Linked DNA regions of Homo sapiens: all the other regions are linked to region 1. Evidence: promoter capture Hi-C in 16 types of primary human blood cells and fetal thymus (Javierre and others, 2016). All regions are on one chromosome and are shown on one strand. The core of a region is centred on a gene start or on the middle of the fragment in contact, and the rest is flanking DNA. Distances in the headings are between cores, read along the strand shown. Region 1 holds the start of ZFP28 (ZFP28 zinc finger protein). Region 2 holds the start of ZNF135 (zinc finger protein 135). Region 3 holds the start of ZNF154 (zinc finger protein 154).

The links. The method cuts DNA at HindIII sites, captures the fragments that hold promoters and counts their contacts. A CHiCAGO score of 5 or more calls a contact.
Region 2: the fragment with the promoter of ZNF135 here is called in contact with the fragment with the promoter of ZFP28 in region 1 in 3 of 17 cell types (fetal thymus, naive CD8 T cells and activated CD4 T cells); the score reaches 6.3 in fetal thymus.
Region 3: the fragment with the promoter of ZNF154 here is called in contact with the fragment with the promoter of ZFP28 in region 1 in 1 of 17 cell types (neutrophils); the score reaches 5.6 in neutrophils.

Annotation. Positions count from the first base shown.
Region 1 is chr19:56,536,500-56,541,222 of GRCh38, forward strand. ZFP28 (ZFP28 zinc finger protein) reads left to right here and starts at 2,449. Exons shown (of 8, transcript NM_020828.2): 1 at 2,449-2,727; 2 at 3,126-3,217. The coding sequence starts at 2,520. It overlaps ZFP28-DT (ZFP28 divergent transcript), which reads right to left and starts at 2,235. Exons shown (of 3, transcript NR_183967.1): 1 at 1,926-2,235; 2 at 1,152-1,238. The HindIII fragment of the contact is 11,931 bases long and covers 1-4,723 here.
Region 2 is chr19:58,056,718-58,061,440 of GRCh38, forward strand. It overlaps ZNF135 (zinc finger protein 135), which reads left to right and starts at 2,565. Exons shown (of 5, transcript NM_001289401.2): 1 at 2,565-2,593; 2 at 3,252-3,318. The coding sequence starts at 3,286. The HindIII fragment of the contact is 3,956 bases long and covers 1,563-4,723 here.
Region 3 is chr19:57,706,221-57,710,943 of GRCh38, forward strand. ZNF154 (zinc finger protein 154) reads right to left here and starts at 2,984. Exons shown (of 3, transcript NM_001085384.3): 1 at 2,719-2,984. The coding sequence starts at 2,751. RefSeq lists enhancers at 2,572-3,211, 2,955-3,084, 3,105-3,164. The HindIII fragment of the contact is 9,236 bases long and covers 1-4,723 here.

The sequences.
Region 1 (4,723 bases), core at 1,199-3,698:
TTGTCCAGTTTTGGTATCAAGGGTGTCTAGTTTTAAATTCTCCAGTATAGTTTTATAGGATAAGGATTATTTATTGCTTTGGTATTCATGGAAAAGCCTGAGAACTTATTTAATGATTTTCCATTTCTTCTTGAGTCAGTTTTGGTACTTATAATTTTCTCTATGGTAAGCCCCTGCATATGTTTTAAATATATTGAGATAAGGTGATCACAGTATTTGCAAAATTCTAAAAATTTCTGTGATTATGTCCACTTTTTCATTTCTAATACCATTTCTTTGATTGTTTATTTCTCTTTTTTTCTGCTAAGCCATCTTTAGCATAACTTTCATCCTCATGATGCCAAGGTGGCTGTTTGCAGCGGACCCTATCCTTGTTGGACTGAACAAAGGATGACAAACATGGGAATAAAGACAAAGACAAAAGAGTATATTTGGAAGAAGAGGTCTGGGGGCTCCTTGCTTCCAGTGAACACAGGCCCTGAGCCTTTACAGCCCTTCGTATTTATTAGAGTGAATAGGGAGAAGGGGGGTGGTTGTCGGTCAGTAGCTTGATTTACAGCAGGCTTGCAAGACTGCATTCGTCAACCAATAGGCTCTAGATGTCCCATTAGATAACCTCAAGGAGCATGACACCAGGGAGTGATTGCCTTCAGCAAACCTTCTGGTGGCTGGAGCAGAAGCGACTTTGCCCACATTCTGCATTCATGATAAACAGTTTGCTGTTTGATCATATAGCCTCCAGTGGAATGTTGAGTTGGCCACGATCCCTTTGCCAGCTCTCTACAGCTGTTCTACCTGTTGACATCCTGTGTCATACCCAAGCAGGAAGAAGGTTGTGTGAGATGACAAAAGGCCAGAGTTACATGCCAGCTGTGTCTCTTTCCACACATCCACCAAACCCCCAGCAAATGTGTACTTAAAATTCATTGGTTACAGAGCCACTACTCCTTACAAGGAGACTGGGGAGGTGAGTATTATAAGCTGGGCAGATGGCCACTTGAAGAGCATCAATGTTCTGCTGTGGAAGGAGTGCAAAATAGACACCAGAGAGACCATTAGCAGTGTCTGCCACAGCTATTACATGGCTAGGTCCACCTGACTGAAACTAAGCCTTTTCTATGAGACTGAAGTGCTTTGAGAGAAATGCTGACCTTGTCCTTTCTGCAGCTTGCGGCTTTCAGTCACCCTTGGATTCAGAGATAGAAGTCATCTTAATTCCATCACTGAGGCCAGGAGACCTGAAAGAAATCAATTCAAGAGTAAGGAGACCAGGCGTGCAGTGTGACTGGGCGTGCAGAGGTCAGTGCATCTGTGATGACTGGTGTAACAGCATCACTGCCTGTGAGCCAGCAAGGCCCTTGGCTCCCAGGATGAAGCTCTCCAGTTCTGATAAGGCCCCTGGGGGAGAGACCGGTCCTAAACATGTTCAAGAATAAATCCATCAGCTAACTTCAGACCGTGATTCACACAGGAAGGGAACTTTAAGAGGTCGCCAGGGCTGGTATTTTTGAGACGTTAGGCAGCCCTCTCTGAGGCGATGACAAGTGAATGGCATAAAGGAGCCAGCCCAGACGAAAATTTGGGGTTAGACTATTTCGACCCAGGACGTGCAAATACATAGGTTACAAAATGGAAAATGGTATTTTGGAGGATGGGAGGCCCGTGTAGCCAGAGATAATGGGAGAAGGTGAGGGGGCACCCAAAACAATCCCACAAGCTCTCTACATCCCCCTTCCTAGCCCACACACATCACCCATCAGAGTGATCCTCCGGACTCCGGAGGCCCCCAAGATTGCCTTTCCCTTCCCGGTCGGCAGTGACGCTCCCGCAAGGAGCTGACGCCCAGGCCCTTAGCACCTGTCACAGCCAAGCACCCTTTTACTCCGGCCCTGCGGTCCCACCCCTCGCCGCAAGCCCCGCCTCACCCGGTCTGCCGCTGCGCCTGCGCGACTCCCAGAAGCCTTTGGGGGGTGGGTGTGTAGTCAGAGCGGCCTCTGCTTCCGGCCACACCCAGGCCCAGCGTTGGCCACCACTTATGCGGCGGCTGCGGTCCAGGGACAAGTGAGAGCGACCCGCAGAGGGCAGGACGGACGGGCGTTGCATAGGCCCGGGGCCAAACCGTATCTTGCAACCTGAGCTCCGAGGGCCGCCGCATCCGTCCCTGCTTGGGACTACGCTTCCCAGCGGGCATTGCGCCGAGGCCACGCCCGGTTCCGGCGGCGCTGCCTGCGCACTGGAAGTGGGAAGCGCCGGGCTTCTCTAGGCTGAGGGGCGGGGCGGGGCGGGGCGGGGCGGGGCGGGGCGGGGCGGGGCGGGGCGGGGCGGGGCGGGGCAGCGGGGAGGGGTGGGGAGGGGCGGGGCGCGGCCGGGGGCGGGGCGGCTCCGCGGCGCGGCCCAGTGGATGCCGGGCCATGGGGGAGCGCGCGCGGGGCTGTTCGCTGGGCGTGGCGGGCGGGTGTGGCCAGGGGTGTGGGTCTGTGAGGGACCGGTCGGAAGGGCGTCGCGCGGCCTCGGGTGACATGCGGGGGGCGGCGAGCGCGAGTGTCCGCGAGCCGACGCCGCTCCCGGGTAGAGGCGCCCCCCGCACAAAGCCCCGGGCGGGCCGAGGCCCGACTGTAGGGACTCCAGCCACCTTGGCCCTCCCTGCCCGGGGAAGGCCGCGCTCAAGGAATGGCCTCGCATCCAAAGGCCAGCGAGGAGCGGCCCCTACGGGGCCTGGGCACAGAGGTGAGAGTGACAGGTGTTTGGGGCCGAGCGGACAGGGACGAATTCATCTCGGGATGAGATCTGGGAGGGGGTTGGGCTCTCGGGGACCAGTTGCTGGAGAACTGTGCCCCTGGTCTTTGAAGCTGGTGGAGTGGGAGAATCTGAAGATTTGGAAGCTCAACTGATTCAGAGCAGCAAGCCGCGGTAAAAGGGTGTTGACTTTCCCAGGGTGACTCTAACTAGACGCTTTTCCTGTTTTCGTGCTCCCAGGGAGGAAAAAAACCTATCTCCACGTTGTGGCAGTCCCTAGGCAGGGTAATGATCTGATCCCACCTTTTCATGCAGGAAGGGACGTTTCTAGGCTGGTGATTTGGGACTGTGGTGTAGACCTGGTCTCTAGCTACTCCTTTCTCTTTCAGCTCTGCCTTCCAGGGACACTGCTCTTCCCCAGGAGAGAAACAAGAAGCTGGAGGCTGTGGGGACAGGAATTGAACCTAAAGCCATGTCCCAGGTGAGTTGGCATTTCATCTCTTGTCTCTGAAATGCAGTCTTGCTTTTCGGGACTTAATGTTGCTTATTTTCTTGAAAGTTTTCAGTTTAAGAGACCTGTTTGGGCGCGGGTTTCTATTTCTTCACGTTCTAGTGAAGTGATGGGCTACGGGGAAAAGTTTAAACTGCCCGGGGCCTCGATGCCTGCTTCTTCTTCATCCCAATCAGCCTTCATTCTTGATTGATGAAATGATTCAGCCTCTCCCTTGTACCGCTTTTCTCAGAGGGACTCTGATGGAGGAATTGTGCCCCTTGAGGAACACGGCAGACTCTTCTGCTATACATGGTTTGTTTGGTGACCACTTTGTGCCAGCCACTGAGCAAACCAATAGCTAAGCCCTAGTCCCTGCTCTGGAGCTCACAGCCTGTTGACCCAATGTCAAGGAAACAAGCAAGATTCTAGAATGTGATCATCCTTGGGCCAAGTATTATGAGCGAGGACTACAAGGCGCTCCTGGCTTCCAGCCTCCTGTAGCGGAAGGGTAGGCCTATTTACCAAGGAGGTGATTTTTGAGCCTTGCCTTGAAGGGAGAGAAGATGTTTGGGAGGCACAGTAAAGAAAGACAACATTTTAGGGAGAGGAGGCGCAATATGAAAGGCTTTTCCACTTGATTTTGTGGCTTTAAAACATGCCAGTAAATAGTTGTGTTTGTTTCGGTTGGCTTCTCCTATAAATATCATAGCTAGCTCATTAATAGATGAACCATTTCACTTCCACTGAGGCCTCAAAAAATATATGTACAGATGAACCAGCTTCCAGTTGTCCTACCCAAACTGCTCTTGAGTGGGTTACTGTGATCTTCACATTACCAGATGCAGTGCTCAATTCTTAGTCTTTTTTGACTATCATTGGTATTTGAAATAGCTCAGAGGCTGGCAAACTTGTGCTGGATGAGGCCACAGCAGAAAATATGTTAGGCTTTGAAAGTCCTGCTGCATCTACTCCTTTCTGCTCTTATAGAGCTAAAGTAGCCAAAGACAATATGTAAATGAATGGATGGGCTGTGTTCCAGTAAAACTTCAGTTACAAAACAGGTGGCTACCTATCCCTCAAATAGCTCATCCCTGTCCTTCAATAGGCCCCCTTTTTTCCCTTGGCTACTGGGATCTCACACTCATCTGACTTTCATCTTCCTGACTGCTCAGTTTTTGCCACAGTTCTTACCTCCGTGACTTGAACAGAGTGTGCCTCAGCACTCTGCTCATGGCCCTTTCTTTTTTTGTCTGCATGCTGTCTCCTGGGGATAGTAGCCTGTTCCTTGTCTGTACAACCTACCCACATGGTGGCTCCTCCCAGATTCACATTGTGAGCCCAAACCTCTCCTCTGAGCCGCCGGCCTGTGTATCCTGCTCCACTCCTCTGCCTGAGTGTCTGATGGGTAACTCAAGACAGCCTGTCCAGACCCGAAGTCCTGAGAGTCTCCCATAAACCAGCTCCTCCCACAGTTTGAGTCTTAGTCAGTGGCCG
Region 2 (4,723 bases), core at 1,315-3,814, 1.5 Mb after region 1:
GACGTGGCCCAGGATCCTGGAGGGCCACTCTTGTGTGCTCCACCTTGGCTGACAGAAGCAAGGACGTGGCCCAGGGTCCTGGAGGGCCACTCTCACGTGCTACACCTTGGCTGACAGAAGCAAGGACTTGGCCCAGGGTGCTGGACCAGTTGTGGCAGCTGCTGCAACTCACGAAAGCCACCACGTGGTGTTCTTCACCTAACTTGCCCAGTCCCAAGCCCCTGCCCGAGCTGCAGTGAGACAGAGCACTAGCCCCTCTCTTCTCTTTGGGTTCACCCCAGCTGTGGAAGCCCCAGCACCTCAGCACGCCTCCCTTGCCCTGTGCCTTCCTCTGCCAGCACCCCCCAAAGACTCCAACACCCCCATCACGATGTGCCCCAGTCTCCTGTCCTCCAGCCCTTGTCACAGGAGCTGTGAGCCCAGCCCTGGGCACTTCACGCTCTGGAAGACCGGAGTCTCAGACGCCACCTTTCTCCCTGGCAGCCAGGGTCTCTTGGGTCAGAGGAGGCCTGGACACTGCCAGGTTTTGAAGCTGTCAAAAAGATTTTTTTTTTAAAGGGAGAAATATGTCCAGGGAGCTGTAACTGTTACAGTATATTTTAAATGTATGTGTTGAACAGATTAACTTTTTGAACATTAACATACAGCATGACACAGTTCTGCTATCCATGCTGTGATTGCAGGATTGCTTGGAAGCTGTACTGATGTGCAGCCCACCTGCTCATGGTGGGGGGTCCTGTTCCAGGCCACAGAGAGGCAACCAGCAATGCTCTGCTTGGAGATTCGTACAGGAAGCCAAGAAGGAGCTGAGAGGGGCCCAGCCAGTGGTTACAAGAGACAGCAGGAGGTTCAGACCACAGCAAGGGTGGCACTGGAGTAGCCTCCAGCTCATCTTATTTGACTGGTAGAGTGTTATTAAAGCCTTTGAAATCCCTACCAGCTTTTAAAAATCAAGAGATTTCACATAGAAATCCTGATCTCTGGGTTCTTTAGAGAAATCCAGACCTGGGACGCTGGGCTTGCCAGTCCGCACGACCCCACTTGGCTGGAGCCAAGCAGCACTTGCCCCTGTAGAAAGAGCCCGCCCCTGCAAAAGCATGTACGGTTTAGAAACCTGGCTGAGAAAAACAGAGGATCAGAAGGTCTGAGGGAGGAAACAGAGGGGCAAGTTTGAGGGAGCTGGGCAGGGCCGCCTGGCCACCATCAGGGCTGAGCAGGCTCAGTGTGGCACCACTGACAGCTTCTCACCAGGACTATCAGACCGCTTGGGAAAAAGACTTCACCATGAGTTGTGTGTTCATACCTTTTGATCCAGTAAAAGGAAACGGTTGGGGGTGGGGGTGGGGGGCAAGAGTATACATTTTGTGAAAGAAAAAATACACAAAAAGATGTTTTGTGGCATTTGGGTTTGTGAGTTCGAGAACTGAAAAACGGCATTTTATGTATAATGGAAAGCCTCTTTACTGCTGTAGAGTGAAAAGCAGGCTGGCTTTCAGTGCGACGGTCACAAATGTGGGGCTTTACAGTACTTGGAATGTACAGGACGCCCTTAAAAGCCAAGAAGCTTGCCTTTGCTTTGTTTACATCAGTGCATTATGATTTTGAGCCATTATATCTCTTCATAATTGCCACTGTTTTAGGGCTTATGAAATTTAAAGTCTTAACTTGTGTGTTAACCAGCCAAATCTTTGCAAGTGTCTGTGTGTGGTACGAGAATTCGTATTGTGTTCTCTGCTGTTTTCAGAGTTGTTTCAGTCAAAGAAAAAAAAATGCCCGTCTTAAAACTTTTCCTCTGCTTCAAATACAGCTCCCAAGCCCAGGCTGATTGGAATTAATCTGTCCTCCCTTAAAAGGGCAAAAGCACAAGGCTCAGCCCTGGCTTTCCCAGCTCCTCTGGTCTCGCTGCTCCACGGACGTGTGACGTACGCTGGTGAAACGAAGCCCGCTTGAATGGGGGCTTCACTATTGTGTGCTGCTGAACCTAGGCCTAGCGCCTGGCAGGCTTTGGTGAATGTTCAGAAAATGACAATTCATTTCGTGTCAGCGAGGGCACACCAGCTTTGAATATTTTGCTGCTGTTCAAATGCACAATTTTGACAATTACCTAGCAATGTCCAAAGTCGTCATAATTGTTAGTGTCTTGCACGTGATGTTCCTTATAACCATGTAATAAATACAGTGTGAAGTCTCCATGGCTGCCTCAGTGTGGAAAATGCAAAGACTCCCGTGTGTGCGATCTTGGTGAATGTTTTGGTTGAAAGTATGTGTTTTGAAAAAATCATTGCTTTGTTTGCAGCAGTAAAACTGACGGTAGAGTTTCCAACACGAAAGCCCGTGTGGTCGCGCCGGGAGCTCACGGCGTTCCAAGCGGCACTTATCCCGCGTTGATGCCCAGGCACCCCGCGCGCCCTGTTTCACCAGGCCCAGTCACTCCAGCTCCAGCAGCACTGAGAGCTCACGAACGCCAAGGGCGAGAGCGAGGTGGGGGAGGGCGGCCGGAAATGCGCGCGCGGCTCTCTGGGAAATGGAGTTAGGCTCGCGCCGGCGCAGTGTCGGCTGCCGGTGCCGCGGCCTTTGTCTCGCAGTCAGGAGGGTGAGCTAGGCCGGCGAGGAGGGGGAGGGGAGGCCAGGCCGGGCCGGGCCGGGCCGGGTGCGGGGGGTCCGGGGATCTTCCTGAGGCCCTGGCGGGGCGAGTTTCCAGCAGCGCGCGTCTGTGTGGAGTCCGTTTTGCTGCCCGGGGCCTGGGGAAGGCCGTTTCGGGGCTGGCGGGGGCAGGCTTTGCGGGGCATCCCTAGTCTGAGAGGAGGGCGGGGCCCAACGCCCAGCTGGACAGGAGCTGCTCCGACGGCCCCTGAGGGAACGCGCGCCCCGCCCCTGGCCCCACCTCTGCCCCACACCGGGCACTGGGCCGCCACCTTTGTTGATGGAAGAGAGAAACTGAGGCATAGTGCCCAGGGCCAGGGGACCGCAACCACCCGGCCCTTGTCACTGTAGCGTTAAGGCTCAGAGTCTGCGCAGCAGATATGTGTCCGCACCCGCCAGGCCTTCAGCTTCCCTCAGACAGGCGGGAAAACCCTAGGCTGCCCTTCTCCGAGCGGAGGGCCGCCCCACACACAGCAGGCGCTTAAACGGGTACGCGGGGCCCTGGACGGCTCTCCGCGGAGCTCCCCAGGCTCTGGCGCAGTTCCCCGGCTTGGGGACCTGAGCACCGCCTCTGCCTGCCCCAGCTGCTCACCTCCCCTTTCCCACAGAGCAGGGCCAGCCGTTCCTGCCAGAAGCCAGGGCATGACCCCTGGGGTGCGCGTCTCCACAGACCCGGTGAGAATCTCGGCCTCCTTGCGCGTGTCCTCCACCTCGTGCCCGGCCTCCTCGCGCGCGGCCTTCTCACGCCCGGCCTCCTCTTTGCACCCCGTCCCTACTCGCGCTCAGCCTCCTCCTTGTGCCCGGCCCCTACTTGCGTGCCCGGCCCCTACTCGTGCCCGGCCTCTACTCGCACAACTGGCCTCTACTCGCGCACCTGGCCTCTACTGGTGCCCGGCCTCTACTCGTGCCCGGCCTCTATTTGCACATCTAGCCTCTACTCGTGTCCGGCCTCTACCTGCACACCCGGCCTCCTAAAGTCCGCGCCAAGCTCCCCAACCACAGCCTGCCTCTGAAAGGACCGCCCACGCCGCGCTGGAGGTCAGCGGGCACGGGTCCCTGTCTGAGTGGGCTTTATGTTTGTGCGGCCGTCATTGCATACCTGAGGCTGGGTGATGTCAGAAAATTGTAGGTGCCCCGGCTCTGCAGTCTGAAGTTGAAGGCCTTAGCATGCTCTGCGCTCCAAGATGGCGCATCGAGTGCCGCTTCCTCAGACGTCATGGAGGCCAAGGGGGCGGAACTCGCCTTTTTATGATGACATTAACCCCACCCATAAGCCACCAGAAGAAACCAGCCTCCTGTAGGAATGTCAGAAAACCCGTACAAGGGGACTGGTGCGATGGCTTGTAGCTGTAATCCCAGCTATGGGGGAGGATTGCTTGAGCCCAGGAGTTGGAGGCTGCAGTGAGCCATGATGTGCCACTGCACTCCAGCCTGAATGACAGTGGAACCCTGTCTCTAAAAAATTAAAAAACAAACCCAGATTTGGCCGGGCGCGGTGGCTCGCACCTGTAATCCCAGCACTTTGGGAGGCCGAGGTGGGCGGATCACGAGGTCAGGAGATCGAGACCATCCTGGCGAACACGGTGAAACCCCGTCTCTACTAAAAATACAAAAAAAAATTAGCCGGGGGGGTGGCGGGCGCCTGTAGTCCCAGCTACTCGAGAGGCTGAGGCAGGAGAATGGCGTGAACCCAGGAGGCGGAGCTTGCAGTGAGCCAAGATCATGCCACTGCACTCTAGCCTGGGCGACAAAGCGAGACTCCGTCTCGGGGGAAAAAAAAAACCACCCAGATTCAGTCTTTAGACTTCTGCTACTAGCTTTATAACTTTGTTTATCCCCTAGGCTGAAGTGCAGTGATGCAATCATGGCTCACTGTGCTTCAAACTTACGTGCTCAAGTGATCCTCCCACCTCAGCCTGTTAAGCAGCTGGGACCACGGGCATGCGACACCATGCTGGGCTGGTCCACTCCTTTATTGCTGGCTCCCTCCATTTCTTATTTCAAGAGACAAATTATTGGAAACGGGCATGATGCCTTAGATTCTAAGATCCTCCACCTCATCAGCAGGGCACCCATCCAG
Region 3 (4,723 bases), core at 1,734-4,233, 1.2 Mb after region 1:
GGCATCCACTAGTGGTAGCAGCCCCAAATCCTATGAGGGCTCCCTGGCTGGCTCCATTCTTTGCCTCAGATTTAGGCCACACAGAACCACATGTGCATCTCAGATACCCATGGCCCTATTCCACTTCCGTGCTGCACTTGCTAGCCCCTCAGCAGTAACAACCTTCCTCTGTCCACTTAACACTCAAAGACTAGCTCCACTGATCACCTACCCCAGGCCAAGTGACTGTCACAGATGACCACATTGGCACCTGGCCTTATCCTCCAGGTTGAATAAACACCCTAGGCCCCATCAAAGTCATCAAAAAATCCTGGTGATTCCACAGAGTGCTGAATAAGCACAAAGGAAAAAAAGGACAGCCATTTGCCTCAAATACACCTATGCCTCTGCATCCACCTTATATCCACTCTTCCCTTGAAAGTGTATGCCACCTGCCCAACTATCCTCTCCAAACACCCTACCTCCATAGCCACTAACCTCCCTTACCTCTGTTTAGAAAGCCCAAGAATATCACCCACTTATCCAACCAAAAGGCTTGGTCCTTAGCCCCCATTCTGCCCTTCCTGGCCAAATAACCTGTACCACCATGCCTAAAGATTAACCCTTGTAGGCCGGATGCGGTGGCTTACGCCTGTAATCCCAGAACTCTGGGTGGCTGAGGCGGGTGGATCACCTGAGGTTGGGAGTTCAAGACTAGCCTGACCAACATGGAGAAACCCTGTCTCTACTAAATAAATACAAAATTAGCCGGGCGTGGTGGCGCATGCCTGTAATCCCAGCTACTCGGGAGGCTGAGGCAGGAGAATTGCTTGAAGCCGGGAGGCGGAGGTTGTGGTGAGCCAAGCTCGCGCCATTGCACTCTGGCCTGGGCAACAAGAGAGACACTCCATCTCAAAAAAAAAAAAAAAAAATAGAACAACCCTTCTAAATGTAATCCACAGCTCACTCACCTTAGTCCACACAATGACCACCACATTTTGGATGTCTCCATTCTGAAGCACTCCCCAGATTTCCAGACCTGGGTGTTCAGCCACCTACTTAATGCCTACTTAATGTCTCTGAAACATCTCAAACTCTTACATGACCAAATAAAGCTCCTGTTGTCTCCAGTGAATATTACTGTTAATACCAACTTCTCCATCTCAGTTGAAGAACCATGGGGTCATCGCTGAATCCTGTTTCACTCCCTCGCTGTCTACATCAGAAAATTTAGTTGCTCCCTTTAAAAATTTGCATCCAGAATGCAACACATCTCCTAATCAATGACTCTGGTCCATTACCCTGGACTGGCTGTAGCTTCCACTCTGATCTTCTTTCCTCTTCCCTCAACCCCACAGTCTGCTCTCCACGCTAACGGGATGGACCCTGTTAGGACTTTGGTAAGATCACCTCCCTCTTGTAACCCAAATCTCTCATTACCTCCAGAATAGGTACCCAACTTCTCAGGCAGCCACTGCAGTCCTGACTCCTTCCCCCTGCTCTTTGTTCCCAGCTAAAAGGAAACAGATCTATGGTTTCCTCAAAAATCTCAGCTTAGTTTTACTAAGCACTTGCGCCTCCTGATACCAGTGCCAGAGATAACCTTTCACAAGTTTCCACTGGCTGACAAAAATGGGAACACCTCAGTATAACCCCTGTAACCTCTGGCATGGACTTAAGAGCCCTGGGCTTGGAATTTCTCCAGGGCACCAGACCCAGGATTGGGGTAACAGCACTTAAGAATACTAGGAAACCACAATCCCAAGAACATGGGGGTAGAGGCTACTGAGGGACCGAACACTCTCCACTTCCCTATGTGAGTTCCATACGCCCTTCTACAACTGGGAGAACCAGGGAAAGAGGAATGCATCCCTGGTGAGGCTAGATGAGCTCAAGCCTCCCTGTAGCCCTGCCTGGCCCTGAACTCAGGCTGGCTGTTTTACTTTCTGGTCTCAGTGCTGTCACCTCTTGCCAACTGTAGGGCAATGAAAAAAAGATGTAGCCTCCCACTATCTCAATGTCCTCATCGCCCCATCGCTGCTCTTCCTGTGAACAGTCTTTGGAAAAGTTTTTAAACCCTAACATAGGGCGGGCACGGTGGCTCACGCCTGTAATCCCAGCACTTTGGGAGGCCGAGGCAGGAGGATCACTTGTCAGGAGTTCCAGACCAGTCTGGCCAAAATGGTGAAATCCCGTCTCTACTAAAAATACAAAAAATTAGCCGGACGTTGTAATCCCAGCTGCAGGCTTGTAATCCCAGCTGCTGGGGAGGCTGAGGCAGGAGAATCGCTTGAACCCGGGAGTCGGAGGTTGCAGTGACCCGAGATCGCGTCATTGCACTCCAGCCTGGGCGATAAGAGCGAAACTCCGTCTCAAAGAAAAAAAAACTAACATAAATGGCGTCCCTCCTTTGTTCAGAACTCTCCGTGGCTTCTAGCATCCTCACAATGACAGTACAACCCTAGGAGTAACTCCGCCTCATATTCTTCGTTCCCTGCAGAAAACAGCTTTCCGAATTCTCCTGGCTCAGTCGCGCCTCAACCTTTGCACGCGCCGGTTCCTCCGCCTGTCACGCTCTCCCACACCTCGTCACACGCAGTGTCAAAAAAAGGGCCCCACCCACGAACGCCTCAGTGTCCCCGACCCTGGGCAGCGGGGACTCGAGCAGGCGCCCCTCACTGATGGCTTTAGAACGTGGGTGGGGGAAGGTGTGTGAGGACGGGAAGACGCCGCACTCACCTGAGTTGGCGTCCTCAGAGTGGCCGCTGCCATCAGACTCTGCGGGTAGAGCTGGGCCGGGAGCGACGGGCGACATTGGTAGGGACCCGGGGACAGCGGTCCCTATCCCAGGCCTGACGTGGGTCCCCCAGGGCGGCGTCGCCAAGGCTTAGACGCTTTCGTGCAGGAGGGACGACGACTCCCCTCACGCCTTCGTGGCCCCAACTCGGCGCTCTGCTATCTCTGATCCGGTGAACACACCTCAGAGAAGCTAAAATGGCCGCCACGAAGAGGCCCCCCCAAAAGTCCCGTCCTTTCTTTTTGTGACTCTCAAGGAAAGTCGGTTTTCTGAGCTCTTACTGGCTTAGTAGCGTGGCGTTCAACGCAGAGCATTCTAGGTAATGTAGTTTTCATAGATCCCGAGGTGGGTGCCGGGGACCCTTTGCACCAACCTCTTGGAGTAAAAGCGAAGCTCCAGGGCGCTGGGCGATGAGAAATGGCTTATCCAAGTCCTAGGGCAGTGGAGGGACTTCGCCCTTTCTTAAATGGGTCGTAATCAGACAGCATATTAGAGGTGCCATCTGCAACTGATCACCCAAGTGTTTGGGGAATATTATTTCAAACTTCATAAAGTTCAGCAGGCTCCCAGAGGCTAAAATTATTATCAGACGCTCCCTAAGGCTGCCAATCCAAATATGTACATCATTCCATAGAGCCATTCAGACACGAAATATATCCACTAGTAGGGAAGCTAATAAACATTACCATATAAGTTTATTCCTTTTTTTTTTTTTTTAAGACAAAGTTTCCCTCTGTCCCCCAGGCTGGAGTGCAGCGGCGCCATCTGGGATCACTGCAACCTCCGCCTCCCGGGTTAATCGATTCTCGTGCCTCAACCTTCCAAGTAGCTGGGACTATAGGCGCGCGCCACCACGCCAGGCTAATTTTTTGTATTTTCAGTAGAGACAGGGTTTCACTATGGTGGTCCCAAATTCCTGGCCCCAGGTGATCTGCCCGCCTCGGCCTCTCAAAGTGCTGGGATTACAGGCGTAAGCCACCGTACCCAGCCTCTATCATATTACATTTCAAATGTATGCACTCCGAAGCATTGAAGTCAGTCTGTGCACTTTTGGTCAGGGACAGGTGAAAAACTACTTCAGATAGTGGCATGATAGTGCTTCTAGAAGATAGAAGAGAAATGTTAGATCACCTTGAAACAGTAGTACAAAGGTAGAATTCTGTCTGATTCCAACAGAAAACATCTTTTGCCTGCATAGTCAATTATTGTGTCCAATTACTGTGTCCAGTCAATAACTGTGTCCAATTCACTGAGCAACGCTTTTATCCATTTCATAATTCTTACTTGATATCTGAGATATATTCCTTCTAGAAGTCTAACATCAATCTCAAAAAACAATGAAAGAAATGCTACTTTGATAAGAGACAAAGGGGAGAGGTGGGACTTCTTAATCAGAAAGCCGGTGAAATGCACTTGAAGGAAGTGAGAAATGAGCCATGTGGGTATTTTTAGAATAAATTCCAGGCAGAAGAAGCAGGTTACTAGAGTGCCTGGATGGATGGAGACTTCACAGGGCATTTCAGCATTGGAGGGCCTAGGGCTCCAACCCAGCAGGCCTTCATCTGCTTTGCTGGCTGCAGAGACACTCAGGGTATATAGGTGAGAAATCTCTTCTTTTTTTTTTTTCTTTTTTTTTGAGATGGAGTTTCACTCTTATTGCCCAGGCTGGAGTGCAATGACGCAGTCTTGTTTCACTGCAACCTCTCCACCTCCTGGGTTCAAGCGATTATCTTGCCTCAGCCTCCCAAGTAGCTGGGACTACAGGCGCACGCCATGACACCCAGCTAATTTTTGTATTTTTAGAAGAGACGGGGTTTCACCATGTTGGCCAGGCTGGTCTCGAACCACTGACCTCAGGTGATCCACGCATCTCGGCTTCCCAAAGTGCTGGGATTACAGGCATGAGCCACCGAGCCTGGCCGAGAAATCTCTGCTGCTTTGTTATAA